Linked DNA regions of Homo sapiens: all the other regions are linked to region 4. The links are contacts of gene promoters, found by promoter capture Hi-C in blood cells and fetal thymus (Javierre and others, 2016). All regions are on one chromosome and are shown on one strand. The core of a region is centred on a gene start or on the middle of the fragment in contact, and the rest is flanking DNA. Distances in the headings are between cores, read along the strand shown.

Region 1 (2,700 bases), core at 124-2,623, 1.1 Mb after region 4:
TTCAACTGTCAGTCATTTTTTGCCTGAAAAATGAATTCACAGAAATTGGTCCAAATACAGTCTATATAAATTACTGAGTTTATTTTTATACAAGTAGTTCTACTTCACCTTCTTCCACAAATGATTTGAGGCAGCGTCCTAAAATATAGACATTAGTAGATTTAAAAATAGGGGAAGGAACCAGTGAAAGGAGAGCTTAATGGAAGGAGAATGATGTGGCCAATGATAAGATTAACATTTAAGTTTGCACTCCATCAGATCCAGAACAGTTGTCAGAAGTAGGCCAGAAATTTGACCCTAACTAAGCTGTTGAATAGCCATAGAAAAGAGGAAATAGCAATCATTTTTAGGTTTTTACTGTTCATAAGATAAAAACTGGCTTTTTTTCTTTTCCCTTTTTTTTTTTTTTTTTTTTGAGACAGAGTTTTGCACTTGTTGCCCAGGCTGGAGTGCAATGGCGCGATCTCAGCTCACTGCAACCTTCGGCCCTCAGGTTCAAGCGATTCTCCTGCCTCAGCCTCCTGAGTAGCTGGAATTACAGGCATGCACCATCATGCCCGGCTAATTTTGTATTTTTAGTAGAGATGGGGTTTCTCCATGTTGGTCAGGCTGGTCTTGAACTCCCGACCTCAGGTGATCCACCCGCCTCGGCCTCCCAAAGTGCTGGGATTACAGGTGTGAGCCACTGCACCCGGCCTTTTTTTTTTTTTTTTTTTTTTTAATGGAATTTCACTCTTGTTGCCCAGGCTGGAGTGCAATGGCATGATCTCGGCTCACTGCAACCTCTGCCTCCCGGGTTCAAGTGATTCTCCTGCCTCAGCCTCCCAAATAGCTGGGATTACAGGCGCCCGCCACCATGCCCAGCTAATTTTTGTATTTTTAGTAGAGACGGGGTTTCACCATGCTGGCCAGGCTGGTCTCGAACTCCTGGCCTCAGGTGATCCACTTGCCTCAGCCTCCCAAAGTGCTGGGATTACAGGCGGGAGCCACCGTGCCCGGCTGTTTTGTTTTTATAGAAGCAGTTTTTCTTGAATTTTAGTCCTGAGAGAAATACAGTTTCCTCATAAAGATGATGTAGTGAGCCTAGTGGGAACTATGTGTCATAAGGAGTGACACCCAAATCCCCTCAATGGAAACTGTTGGCACAATCACAAAGCACAGTGCATTAAATCAATTCTATGAATTGGCCAGGCATAGTGGCTCAGGCCTGTAATCCCAGTAGTTTGGGAGGCTGAGGCAGGAGGATTGCATGAGCCCACGAGTTAGAGACCGGCCTGGACAACATGGTGAAGCCCCATCTCTACAAAATTAGCTGAGTGTGGTGATGTATGCTTGTAGTCCCAGCTACTTGGGAGGCTGAAGTGAGAGGATCATCTGAGCCTAGGGAGGCTGAGGCTGCAGTGAGCCGTGATCACACCACGGCATTACAGCCTGGGCAACAGACTGAGACCCTGTATCAAAAAAAAAAAAAATTCCATGAACCATCAACATATTTCTGTTCACTTGAATACACAAGCCCTCAATGGTCTGGCTTAATCCAGGGTAGCATTTAGATCATCTTTCCCCAGGATGGCAAATAGGTTTCAACTCACATGTTAACTCTGAACTATTTGTAGTAGCTGCCTGAATAACTATGTTGAGAAGTTTGGGGGCTTTGTCCAGGCTCAGAAAGAAAAAGTTCTGTACTCAGTTAACAATGCTGTGGGTGCAGGATAGGTAAGTGGCTGCATGCAATAACCTACCTGGTACCTCTGCTTTGTAGAAATAGAGGTCTTGCATGCAGAACTTTGTGCAGTCACTCAAAATCAACAATTCTCGTGGCCAGGCGCAGCAGCTCATGCCTGTAATCCCAGCACTTTGGGAGGCTGAGGCGGGCAGATCACCTGAGGTCAGGAGTTTGAGACCAGCCTGACCAACCTGGAGAAACCCCATCTCTACGAAAAATAGAAGATTATCCAGGCATGGTGGCACATGCCTGTAATCCCAGCTACTAGGGAGGCTGAGGCAGGAGAATTGCTTGAACCTGGGAGGCAGAGGTTGCAGTGAGCCGAGATTGCACCATTGCACTCCCGGCTGGGCAACAACAGCGAAACTCCGTCTCAAAAATAAATAAATAAATAAATAATTTCTCACCACAGGGTTTTTGATAAATACCAGAGTGTAGAGAGTTCCAGGTCCCTTTCTCACTCTGATCCACCTATACTGGTCTTCCCATGTTCATTCCTGTCTCTGAACATTTTCTTTTGTTGTTCCCATTGTTTGGACCACTCTTTACTCGGATCTTTACATGGCTGGAGTTTTCTCATTATTCAGTACTTAGCTAAAATGTCACCTCTTTAGATATGTTTTTCCTGACAACCATATCTGAAGTTGTATCCAGAGCCTCTCAATCTGCACTGTGCCCAGAGATCACCCGAAGATCATGTTACAATGCAGACTCTGATGCAGTGGTTCCGCGATGTGACTTGAGATTCTAGATTTCAAGCATGCTGCCAGGAGATGCAATCCTGAGGTTCTATAAGACACTCTGAGGCTGGCACGGTGGCTCATGCCTATAATCCCAGCACTTTGGGAGACCGAGGCAGGCAGATCACCTGAGGTCAGGAGTTCGAGACTGGCCTGGCCAACATGGCGAAACACTGTCTCTACTAAAAATACAAAAATTAGCTAGGCGCGGTGGTGGGCACCTGTAATCTCAGC
Region 2 (2,700 bases), core at 31-2,530, 1.2 Mb after region 4:
TGTATAAAGTAAGTATTATAGTTTAAGGAACCAGAGGGGAAATTCATGGAGGGAGAATAAATAATGTAGCCAATGGTAAGATTAACACTCAAGTATGCACACTTTCAGATCCAGAACAGTTTTTGAAGGTGGGCAAGAGATCTCACTCTAAGCTTCCATAGAAAACAGGAGATAACAAGTATTTTAAAGTTTTACGGTGTTCATAAAAACCAATCAATCAGGATTTTGTTTGCTTTTGAGAAGCACTGTTTGTTTTTTTAAAAATAATTTTTAGCCCCAAGGCAAATCCCAGTTCCTCATCATGATGACGCTGTGAGCTACGTGGGAAATAAGTGTCATAAGTTGTTACACCCACATTCCCTCAATGGAAACTGTTGGCATAATCACAAAGCACAGGGCACTGAATCAATTTCATGAACCATCCAAAATTTCCTGTTCGACTGAGTACACAGCCCCACAATGGTCTGGTTTAATTCAGGGTAGCATTTAGATAATCTTTCCCCATAATGGCACATAAGTTTCAACTCACATGTCAACTCCCATTTATTCATATTAGTGGACTGAATAGCTCAGTTGGGGTGGCTGAGTCCATGCACAGAAGGAAAAAGTTCTGAAATAGATAAAAAATGTTTGTCATGGGTGTGGGATGAGCAAATGGCTGCAAACAACCTGTCATCTCTGATTTGTAGTAATAGGGATCTCTTGTGCACATCTTTTAGGCAGTCCACAAAAACATTTCTCATAAGACTTTTGATGAATTTCAGACAGTAGAGGGTTCAGGGTCATCACTGGCCGAAACGTAGGATCAGAAATTCTGAGATATTGATTAATTCATATGTCTTTAATATTAATGAGAGCATATAACCTAAAAGTTATGTGGTCTGATCCCGCCCCCGCCCCCACACCCTTTATAGAGGTTGGCAAAAGAAGTACCTGTTGTCAGGGCTAAATGTGACTAGGTGACCTCCAACTGGTGGGCAAATTGATGATTAAGGATGGAAAATACTATTTCATAGACCATGGCTGCAATACTGTTAGCCTAGTAAAAAGAGAAAATTGACTTGCCAAATCATGAGAAAACTCTTACACCTGAGCAACAGTGGAACCAGCTAAACCTGTAAAAGAAATGTCTTGCTTTAACTACATGAGACCCATTATAAAGCATTGGTCTCCATGCACAAGATGAAACACACAGACACACATACTTTTTTTTTCCCATTTAAGAAACTGTCCTTTAAATTGCTACTTTAGGAGCATAAAGTTGGCAGAATTACACTCACTCAGTTGATCTGAATTAATTTTTATTTCCAAACGGTAGTGATTAACTTTCTCTGAAGTAGAAAAATGTTAACTTGTGAAGAATAAGACAAAGTTCATAATGATTATGGCTACTGATTAACCTACAAAATTTGATGAGCTTTTCAAATATCCTTGCTTAATATGATTTCTCATCTTAAAAAGGGGATATATGTGATGGAGACAAAAATATTCCACATTATAGAGTTTCTTGCTTACCAAGGATACTGGAAATTGTGTGTGTGTGTGTGTGTGTGTGTGTGTGTGTGTGTGTGCGCGCATAAAATTAAGCATACCAAAAGATTGTAACATCATCTGTTCTATATTCTAAAATTATTATTAAAATAAGCTCATTTATCTTTTTATTAAGATGGCCAATGAAAAATAATTTCCTGTTTTTTGTAGTCATGGGCACGTAGTGGGCTGCCAGTCCAACAGCCTGTGATTAGTAAATAAAGGGCACATTGGAAACTCACTGTCAGGGAATGTCCTTCCCATCTCCCATTGTCCTTCTCTGTGTCATTTACAATGAACCCATTCCCACATTGAAATCTTCATTAGCCTCTCAGGACCATTGTTGGAGAATCCAGACTCTCTGACCTCTAAGATCAGAACCCAACTTGGCTTTTCAGATGCATCTACACTGATGCTCTCTCCCCCATCTTCCTCTGAACCACTCTACCAGCAAGTCCCTGCTGTTGGCCATATCCTGTATCTGTCCTTTGTGTTTGTTTTCAGATTTCCTTAACTTGTATCCTGTGGGCTTTCATGTTTTATCTTTAAACATCTTGCCATTGTTCCAGGTCTATCTTGATTATCATTGAGAAACCTTTCTTCTATTTTTCTTTTGTTAACAGTTTTATAATTGACTTGTCAAATCCAGTAACTTTTTATCCTCTTTTTCTCCAGTGTTCCTATAGCATTTTGTTCACAATTGTATGTGCATCTATTGCCATCGTGATTTACTTTTGTGTCCTACAAAATTGTAAGTTCCTGAAGGGCAGAGACTATATTTGGTTCATTTTTGCATTTCTCGTAGCCCATGAATATGATAGTTTAAGAAAACTGAGTTGACTAATTTGAATCATAAACTGAAGTTCTAATAAGCTTGTGACTGGAAATTAAGTACCATGAAATGCATTGCAATGTATATATTTTTACATTCTTAGCCTTAGAGAAACCACACACACACACACACACACACACACACACACACACACACACACACACACACACACACTTGTCTCCCTTTTTTCTTCTGTTCTTCCTTGTGTGGGTTATTTCCATTAACTCAACTACAAGAAGAAAAGAGTTACCTAAATGACATTTTTAAAGTTTGTGGGGGTGTTTTGCAGCATCCCTGGCCTCTACCCACTAGATGCCAGTAGAATCCTCTCATCTGCC
Region 3 (2,700 bases), core at 157-2,656, 1.1 Mb after region 4:
TTTTTTTTTTTTATAGATACCAGGTTTTACCATGTTGCCCAGGCTGGTCTCAAACTCCTGAGCTCAAGTGATCTGCCTGCCTTGGCCTCCCAAAGTGCTGGGATTATAGGTGTGAGCCACCGCGCCTGGCCCTGATATTCTGATTTACTCAACTTGAGGTAGGACATAATTTTTTAAAGCTTTCTAGATGACTCTAATGTGCATCCAGGGTTGGGAACCACTGTTCTTAAAAAATGAAAAATGGTGTGAACGCTTAAATTCAAAAAGAAAAAGGAGAGAACCATAGAGAAGGATATATTTTCAAAGAAGAAGAAGAAGGAAAAAAACCTCACAGCATGGATACTTTTATGAATAAAGTAAAGCTGACAGATGACATATGGTTTCTGATTAAATACATCTGAATTTTACTATTCATATCCCTTTTCAGGATTAATAGGATGTTAAGGTTATGATTAGATCTTCTCTTCTGCAGAATATATGGTGATAATTATCAGATTTTGCCTCAGATGGACTCATTCACCATTAGGAATTATTTACCTACTTTAAGTTGTTCATTAATAAACAGGCCAAATTATAAAAATCACCATTACCTGGCATATAATAGGTGTTCGAAGACTTGCTAAATGACTGAAGAGATCAACACTAGGTTTCCACATGAACGTCTTCTTTCAAAAACATTGACCCAAAAGGGGCAGGGAACAAGAAGAGTGTCTCACAGAATAACATCAAGAGTCACAATAATGAAAATGCCAGCAAGCACTCCTGGGGCCCTGTTCTACGGGTGTGTGTGCTCATTTCGGCCTCACAGCCCCCTCAGAAAGATGAGACTATGTTTAATCCCATTTCATAGATGAGAGAACGAAGGCACACAGAGCTTAAGCAACTTTCCCAAACTGGCAGCCACTGAAGCCCGTTTTGAACCCAACGGTCTGTACCTGAGTCTGGGCACACTCACTGACAACAGAAATTAAAACACTTTTCCTCTCCTCATTTGGATCCTGTCTTTCACAGATATCCCTTTACACATGCCAAGTTTTGTTTTTTTTTTTCTTTTTTGAGACAGGGTCTTGTTTTGTCACCCAGGCTGGAGTGCAGTGGTGTGGTCATAGCTTACTGCAGCCTGGAACTCCTGGCACATGCCAAGTTTTAAAAGCCTGTTTTGGGGACAGTGTGTGCCCTTCAAAAAATAAAGCCAAGCTGCTCTAAGCTCTTCAAATATATTATTTCCCCAACCCAGTTGTCCACCATGGACTAATGCAAGCTCAGGAAGAAACCAACAAGCAAAGTGGCTTCCTAAAGATGCAGAATGCAAAGGAAGCACCCTCAGAGAACTAGGCTAAGCCCACCCAGGGAACAAGGATAGAGGGAACAGGGATGGTCAAAGCAGAGGATGATCAGCTGGGAAAACGAGAGCAGCAGCAAGAAGGCAGCAGATGTCTGATGACGGACATTTGAAATGGAAACATGCGCCTCTCCCAAAAGGGGAACTCAAAAACGTCAGCATTTTGAATCACTTCATTCTGACATGATAAAACAAAATTAGTTACCTATCTCCAAATCTGCAAGCTCCTGTTTTACTGTAGAAGGGACAATTAGCTCGATCCTTCTCCATTACTCTGAAATCCACGGGTGGTTCTGGGTTTTGCCATGTGGTACCATTTTCCAACTGTTGAAAATAACCATGACTTTACTGGTGGAGTAAAAACCCATGAAAGACGAAATGTTTCAAAGTATATTAAAATATTTTCCTCAAAGATAAACATTGTTTCATTTAATAATGCAAACATTTAAGTTGGAACAGGCAATCAAGACTTTACAAACAACGGTACTGAGACATGAGCTCCATGTCTCTCTTGGCTCCTGGTCACTTTCCTTTATCTGGTATCACTACTGCCACCAGGGGCAGTCGCCAAGGTTTCCATCCATTCTAAAAAGGGTCCAAGAAGGCCGGGTGCAGTGGCTCACGCCTGTAATCCCAGCACTTTGGGAGGCCGAGGTGGGTGGATCACCTGAGATCAGGAGTTCAAGACCAGCCTGACCAACATGGAGAAACCCCATCTCTACTAAAAATATAAAATTAGCTGGGCGTGGTGGTGCACACCTATAATCCCAGCTACTTGGGAGGCTGGGGCAGGAGAGTTGCTTGAACCCGGGAGGCGGAGGTTGCAGTGAGCCGAGATCATACCACTGTACTCCAGCCTGGGCAACAAGAGCAAAACTCCGTCTCAAAAAAAAAAAAAAGAAAAAAAGAGAAAAAAAAGGGTCCAAGAACTTATTAGGGAACCACCACAGACAGAAATAGAAGTTACTCTGATTCAAGGTAAACCGTCCACTGGAGGCTAACGGTATGTGATGTTGCTTAAACATACTGTAAGGACTCTAAACAGGTCCAGTCCACAGGGGTCATGAATACCATTTGTATTTGTTCATCAATAAAGTTTGTTGTTGTTGTATAAATCAAAGCATCATAAACATGAGTCCAGATATCCAAACATGATCTAACTAACCTACCACGAAACTAACATTACTGGAACTATTATTTCTAAGGAAACATTAATTGGTCTCAAATTATCAATGTAAGGTTTTAAAAATACCTCATTTTCAGCCTGATCCAGCATCTTCTGCAAAGCTTCCTAAAATGGTGCAAACACAGGACTAATAAAAACCCAGAAGTCAGGTAAGTCACATCTGGTTTCTCTG
Region 4 (2,700 bases), core at 109-2,608:
ACAAGATTCCTTGACCCAGAATGGGGGGAGGGCGTTATAATAATGAACGGTATTGTATCGGAAACAACACAGTAAATATCTACAGAAGGGAATGTGACTGGTTCTGCCACTGACTAACGTCTGGGTTTGCGTCCCGGTCAGAAAAGTGGGCATGACAGCGGCATCTGCAAGATAGCATCTGAGCATGAAGGCACTTGGAAAGGTATCAAGGCAGCAAATGTTCCGGGGGTGCTTTTGCAAGAGGAGCCTCTCCCGGAGCTGGACGTACACTTCGGTTCCCTTTGCACGCAGGCACCTTGGTCGCCTCCCCCAACTCCGTCCCCTCTGCTCCTGGCCCTCATTTTCTTCTATTTCCCTTTTGGCCTTGCAGCCAGCTTTCTCCTCCCCCGACACACTCCTCAGGGGCTATGAAGTTCCTGAGCAGAGCAGGGCTCAGGTAAGCAGGCCCAGGGTAGTTCAGCCCTGCTCTCTCCAGCTCCGCCAGCTTGGGGTGGGGTCGCGCTGGGACCCCTGCAGGTGACAAAAATGACTCAGCAGGGGCCGGGGCTGGGATGAGAAAGGAACGCCAGTGCAGGGACAAAATCCCCTGAAGCGCGAAGAGGCCGCAAACCATCATCTTAAGGACCCAAACATCGAACAAATTAAAATGTAACAGTGTAAATCGGCTTCGGCCCGCCGGCGGCCTGTGCCGCCACAGGCTGCACATTTAGCCTAACAGGGCGGCCCGGCGGCTTTTGCAGGCAGAAAACGCCCGCGGCCTCTCCAAAAGCTCTCCTCCGTCTGAGACCAGCCCCACCTCGGCCCGACCGGGCCCCAGGAAAGGCCAGTCGGCTGGAGGAGAACATTTCAGGGGTGCAGAGAATTGCATGTCCGTGATTATCAGGGAGACTTTGAAGGCACAGTAATCTCTCGAGAACAGGAACCATTTTCCCCTCTTGCTCTGAGATTTTGCTTGGCTAAGCGGCGGCAGCCTCCCTGCCCCCCTCTCACCCCCACCACCGCTGCCGCTACAAGCAACCACGCCCCGCGGGCCCCAAGGCTCGCCGCCCCGGGGCTCGCGGCCCCCACTCAGCCGGCCAGCCGCGCCTCCATCAGCCCCGCCCTCGCGCGCCCCCATCCGCCCCGCCCCCTCGGGCCCTCATCCGCCCCGCCCCCGCGCGCCCCATCCGCCTCCGCGGCCGGCCCTGGGAGCGCCGGGCGAGCCCTCGCGCCTGCGCATCGCCAACTTCCTGCCGCGGCACGCTCCGCCCACCCCCAGAAGCCCGCCTCCGAACGCCGCGTGAAACCCGCCCGCCGCGCGTCATTGGTCTCGGCGCCGGAGCCGTTGGCTCCCAGACCCGCCTCTCCGCCTCCTCTCACTTTTCCCAGGGCGGATGCGCCTGCGCTCAGCTGCCTGGGCGGGCTGGGAGGCGCGGGTTGAAAAGTCTCGTTCCAAGTTTGGAGAGAGAGAGAAGAGCGCCTCAGACCTCGGTACCCGCGAGCGGGGAGGAGGCAGGAAAGAAGGACGCGGCGTCTGGGGAGCACCCAGGCAGCAAGACGGGGCCCGGGCTTTCGACAGTGGGGAGTGTGACGCGCTTGGGAAAGGCAGGAGCGCCAGCGGTCGGGCTGCTCTTGGCTAACGAGAGGAGTCCGAGGCGGCGGCGAGGGGCGAACGACCCGACGCAAGATGGCGAGTAAAGAGAGTAAGAGGCCCTGCGGGGCGGCGCGCGCCGGGGCCGCGGGGGGCGGCGGGCGCGCGAGGCCGCGGCACGCGCCGGCGAAAGGCGCGAATTGGCGTGCGGAGCAGGGGGCGGGGCCGGGCGCGAGACTGGGCGCGCGCCTCGAGGGGCCTGCGCGGGACGGGACCGCCGCGCCGAGGGCTCCGAGCACTTCCGGAGCCGGGCGCGGGGCCGAGGGCTGGGCCCCCCTCTTCCCTTCCCTCCTCCAGCGGCTGCGCTCCCTCCGGCGCCCTCGGCCCCGGGGCGGAGGCGGCCCCCGCCGCTGGGAAGCGAGCGCCGCGGCTCTTTCTACGCGCGCGCGCGCGTTGACCGCCTCGGGGTCGCGGCCCTTGTCCGGGGGTTGCTGGGGTCCTCAGGCCTATGGCTGCCGAGGCGGGCGTCGTGGGAGCTGGGGCCTCCCCTGATGGGGATTGGAGAGACCAGGCCTGTGGGCTTCTGCTACACGTGCATTTGTCTTCCCGACTGGGTCGCGCAGCCCCTGTACGTACAGGTCGTCATCTTAGAACAGGTGCGAACAGCTGTAACAGGGTAAACAATTTCCATGTCCGTGTAATTGACTACCCAACATGGTGTACGCAGGGGGTATTGATCTCAATGGAAAAAATAGGCTTCCTGATTGTTAGTATTTTCTCCACCTTCTGGAAGAGCAGTTAGTTGTCCGTGTCCAAATTAGAGGTAAAAGGAAAGAGTACATGAGGTGTGGCCATCTTGAGGTGACCTCCAATTTCTGACTTTGATCTATCTCAGCCACTTAATCGTGTGGGCTTTCTCCAAATTTCAGTGTTTGAAGATACTGTGGAGGAGCGTGTCATCAATGAAGAATATAAAATCTGGAAGAAGAATACACCGTTTCTATATGACCTGGTTATGACCCATGCTCTTCAGTGGCCCAGTCTTACCGTTCAGTGGCTTCCTGAAGTGACTAAGTAAGGGTTTCTGGCAACTTTTATTTTGTTTAAATTTAACTGTCGTTCTGAATTTC
Region 5 (2,700 bases), core at 125-2,624, 1.1 Mb after region 4:
GGGTTTCACCCCATCTCTACTAAAAATACAAAAATTAGCCGGGTGTGGTTGCGCACGCCTGTAATCCCAGCTACTCGGGAGGCTGCAGCAGGAGAACTGCTTGAACCCAGGGGGCGGAGGCTGCAGTGAGCCAAGATCGTGCCACTGCACTCCAGCCTGGGCAACAGAGCGAGACTCCGTCTCAAAAAAAAAAAAAAAAAAAAAGAAAAGAAAAGAAAAAATTAGCCAGGTGTGGTGGTGAATGCCTGTAGTCCCAGCTACTAGGGAGGCTGAGGTGGGAGGACTGCTTGAGCCTGGGAGGTGGAGGCTGCTGTGAGCCGTGGTTGTGCACATCCCTCCTGGGCAACAGAACAAGACCCTGTCTCAAAAATAAATAAATGAGCTTCATAACTAGTATTATGTTGATATATATTTGAATAACATAATAATTTGGGTAAACCAAGGGTCTCATATTAGTCAAGTTTGAGAAAAACTTGCAAAACGTCTAATTAATACCTTCAACTCCTGCTGGTTTTACGAAGAAAAACATTCACCGAATACTTACTACGTGTGCAAGGACTGTGCTAGCTGCTGTAATTCATGAAGCTTGCAACTGTAATATTAGATACTTTATAAGTTACACAGAATCAGTGGGCGATCATTCACCAAGACTTCCTCTTCCTGCCTTTAGTATGTTAACATTGTTTCTGACATGTGTTTCTAAATAACTACTTGGGGGCAGAAGTCACAGCTATTTTTCCTCCGACACAATATTTGACTTCCTTCTGACACTGGGGCTTCAAGTTAGGGCTGGAGTGGACAGAGCAATTTCACAACACAGAAAACAGAATAAAGAGTCCATCACCTGAGTCTCTCAGTCGAGCAAGTTCCTGCCGACGTTTCTTTCGTTTCTCCTTCTTCAGGGCGGCCCTGTACTTTTTGTGGCTGGAAGATTAAGACATATACACGACGATCAGCGGCTACAATGCAGCGCTGCCCGAGCTCCCCGCTCCTCTGTGCCCAATGAAAGGAAATAGTTCGGGTGCTGAGGAGAGAAACCTTGCTTCCTGTATTTTAATTACAGAACAGCCATCTATCATCGCCTCATCCTCCCACTCCCAGACAGTTCTTCTCCATCCGCCAACCTGATCCTCTCCTCGCTTGCCTGAGCCACAGCCGCCCGTGCAAGTCCGGGGAGGGCACCAGAGCGCGCACCAGGAAGGAATGGAGCTGCCGCGGTGGCTCACTTAGCTTGGCCCAGCTTCTCTTTTCTTCCTGCCACCACATCCTCCATGCCCACGATCGGCCCGCTCGCCTGCTCATCTCCCCGTACGGCGCTTACCTTGGTTTCTCGGGAAACGTCATCTTCTCGGGCGCAGCCATCTTGCCGGCACCGCCCCGCCCCTCCAGGTCTGGCAGGAAAGGGCGGGCCTAAGAGTCGAGACGGGCACGCGCAGGCGCGGGTACCGAGCAACCTCCACCAGCGTGGGACTTGAAACGGAAAGCCGGAGGTACCCTTCGGCGGCTCGTCTTCCAGAACCCTGCTCAAATAAATACCTCCTTCCAGCAAAAATACTCTGGGGCTTTTACCCCGCCCTAGAAGTAATTGTCGCTTCAGCACTTGCCCAGTGCTGTATCACTGTCTCCCTCCTCGCCCTAGCAGGACGTGTTGTGGCTAGGCGGTTAAAGTCGTACTCTGCCGCTTTTCTCAGCATCCACTCATGAAGTCACATCGCGCACAGAGCTGCTCGCCCGGCTTTATTTCCGACCTGTCCAGGTTCCGCGTCCTTCCGCCGATCCACCTATCAGCGCCTCAGACAAAGCTCCAGACTTCGCTCCCTGCCAGTCACACCTGTTCTGGTCCCTTAAGCAAACCTAACTCCCAGGGCTGCAAAGCTGTTACCTCTGCCCCTGAGGAGTTTACAATCGAGGGGGCAGAGAAGAACCAATACATAATATGATGCAGGCAAAGATGAAGTTTACCTAACATAGTCCACCAAGGGATTCAGGGAGAGCTCTCTTTTTTTTCCTTTTTTCTTTTTTTTTCAGTATCACATGCGACTCAACTGCAGTATCAGGGACAGCTTTCTGATGCTAAGAGTTGAGTTTGGAAAGAAGATGCCCTTTACCCAGAAGGAGAAGGGTGGGAATGCAGTTACAGTCAGATCAGCATAAGCAAAGGCGCTGAAAGGTGAAAGTGGAATATGCTGGGAACAGCAAGAATTTTGGCAATCGAATTTATTTATTTATTCATTTCTTATATATTAGAGACAGGGTCTTGTCTTTCACCCAGGTTGGAGTGCAGTGGCGCAATCACGACTCGCTGCAGCTTCGACCTCCTGGGGTCAAGCAATCCTTCCACCTCAGCCTCCCGAGTAGCTGGGAATACAGGCGCGAGCCACCACGCCCGCCCAGCTATCCAATTTAAAGTGCAGTTCGAGGCTGGGTGCAGCGGCTCACGCCTGTAATCCCAGCACTTTGGGAGGCCTAGGCGGGTGGATCACCTGAGGTCAGGAGTTCGTCAGCCTGGCCAACATGGTGAAACCCCGTCTCTACTAAAAATACAAAATTAGCCGGGTGTGGTGGCACATGCCTGTAGTCCCAGCTACTCTGGAGGCTGAAACAGGAGAACTGCTTGAACCCAGGAGGTGGCGGCCGCAGTGAGCCGAGATGGCACCACTGCCCTCCAGCCTGGGCAACAGAGCAAGGCTCCGTCTCAAA

The links. Contacts are between HindIII fragments. The CHiCAGO score rates a contact against its expected background, and 5 or more counts as called.
Region 1: a fragment that was not itself captured here is called in contact with the fragment with the promoter of RBBP7 in region 4 in 2 of 17 cell types (total CD8 T cells and naive CD8 T cells); the score reaches 6.6 in total CD8 T cells.
Region 2: a contact is called between a fragment that was not itself captured here and the fragment with the promoter of RBBP7 in region 4, in 6 of 17 cell types (non-activated CD4 T cells, total CD4 T cells, total CD8 T cells and 3 more). The highest score is 9.5, in non-activated CD4 T cells.
Region 3: a fragment that was not itself captured here is called in contact with the fragment with the promoter of RBBP7 in region 4 in 1 of 17 cell types (activated CD4 T cells); the score reaches 5.3 in activated CD4 T cells.
Region 5: a contact is called between the fragment with the promoter of ZRSR2 here and the fragment with the promoter of RBBP7 in region 4, in 4 of 17 cell types (non-activated CD4 T cells, total CD4 T cells, naive CD8 T cells and 1 more). The highest score is 7.1, in non-activated CD4 T cells.

What each region holds. Positions count from the first base shown.
Region 1 is chrX:15,734,152-15,736,851 of GRCh38, reverse strand. The region is part of intron 4 of CA5BP1-CA5B (CA5BP1-CA5B readthrough); the gene reads right to left. Among named protein-coding and RNA genes, the nearest start is that of CA5B, 2.8 kb to the left of the region's middle. The HindIII fragment of the contact is 3,678 bases long and covers 1-2,700 here.
Region 2 is chrX:15,670,716-15,673,415 of GRCh38, reverse strand. It overlaps a transcript of CLTRN not described here. Among named protein-coding and RNA genes, the nearest start is that of CA5BP1-CA5B, 3.4 kb to the left of the region's middle. The HindIII fragment of the contact is 2,251 bases long and covers 155-2,405 here.
Region 3 is chrX:15,808,166-15,810,865 of GRCh38, reverse strand. It overlaps ZRSR2 (zinc finger CCCH-type, RNA binding motif and serine/arginine rich 2), which reads right to left. Exons shown (of 11, transcript NM_005089.4): 6 at 2,595-2,633; 7 at 1,548-1,666. Among named protein-coding and RNA genes, the nearest start is that of ZRSR2, 19 kb to the right of the region's middle. The HindIII fragment of the contact is 2,450 bases long and covers 182-2,631 here.
Region 4 is chrX:16,869,020-16,871,719 of GRCh38, reverse strand. RBBP7 (RB binding protein 7, chromatin remodeling factor) reads left to right here and starts at 1,358. Exons shown (of 12, transcript NM_002893.4): 1 at 1,358-1,682; 2 at 2,500-2,644. The coding sequence starts at 1,667. RefSeq lists enhancers at 664-1,342, 2,352-2,441 and silencers at 1,082-1,391, 1,722-1,771, 1,792-2,131. The HindIII fragment of the contact is 7,607 bases long and covers 1-2,700 here.
Region 5 is chrX:15,789,158-15,791,857 of GRCh38, reverse strand. It overlaps ZRSR2 (zinc finger CCCH-type, RNA binding motif and serine/arginine rich 2), which reads right to left and starts at 1,374. Exons shown (of 11, transcript NM_005089.4): 1 at 1,322-1,374; 2 at 845-924. The coding sequence starts at 1,362. RefSeq lists enhancers at 1-388, 1,047-1,496. The HindIII fragment of the contact is 2,263 bases long and covers 588-2,700 here.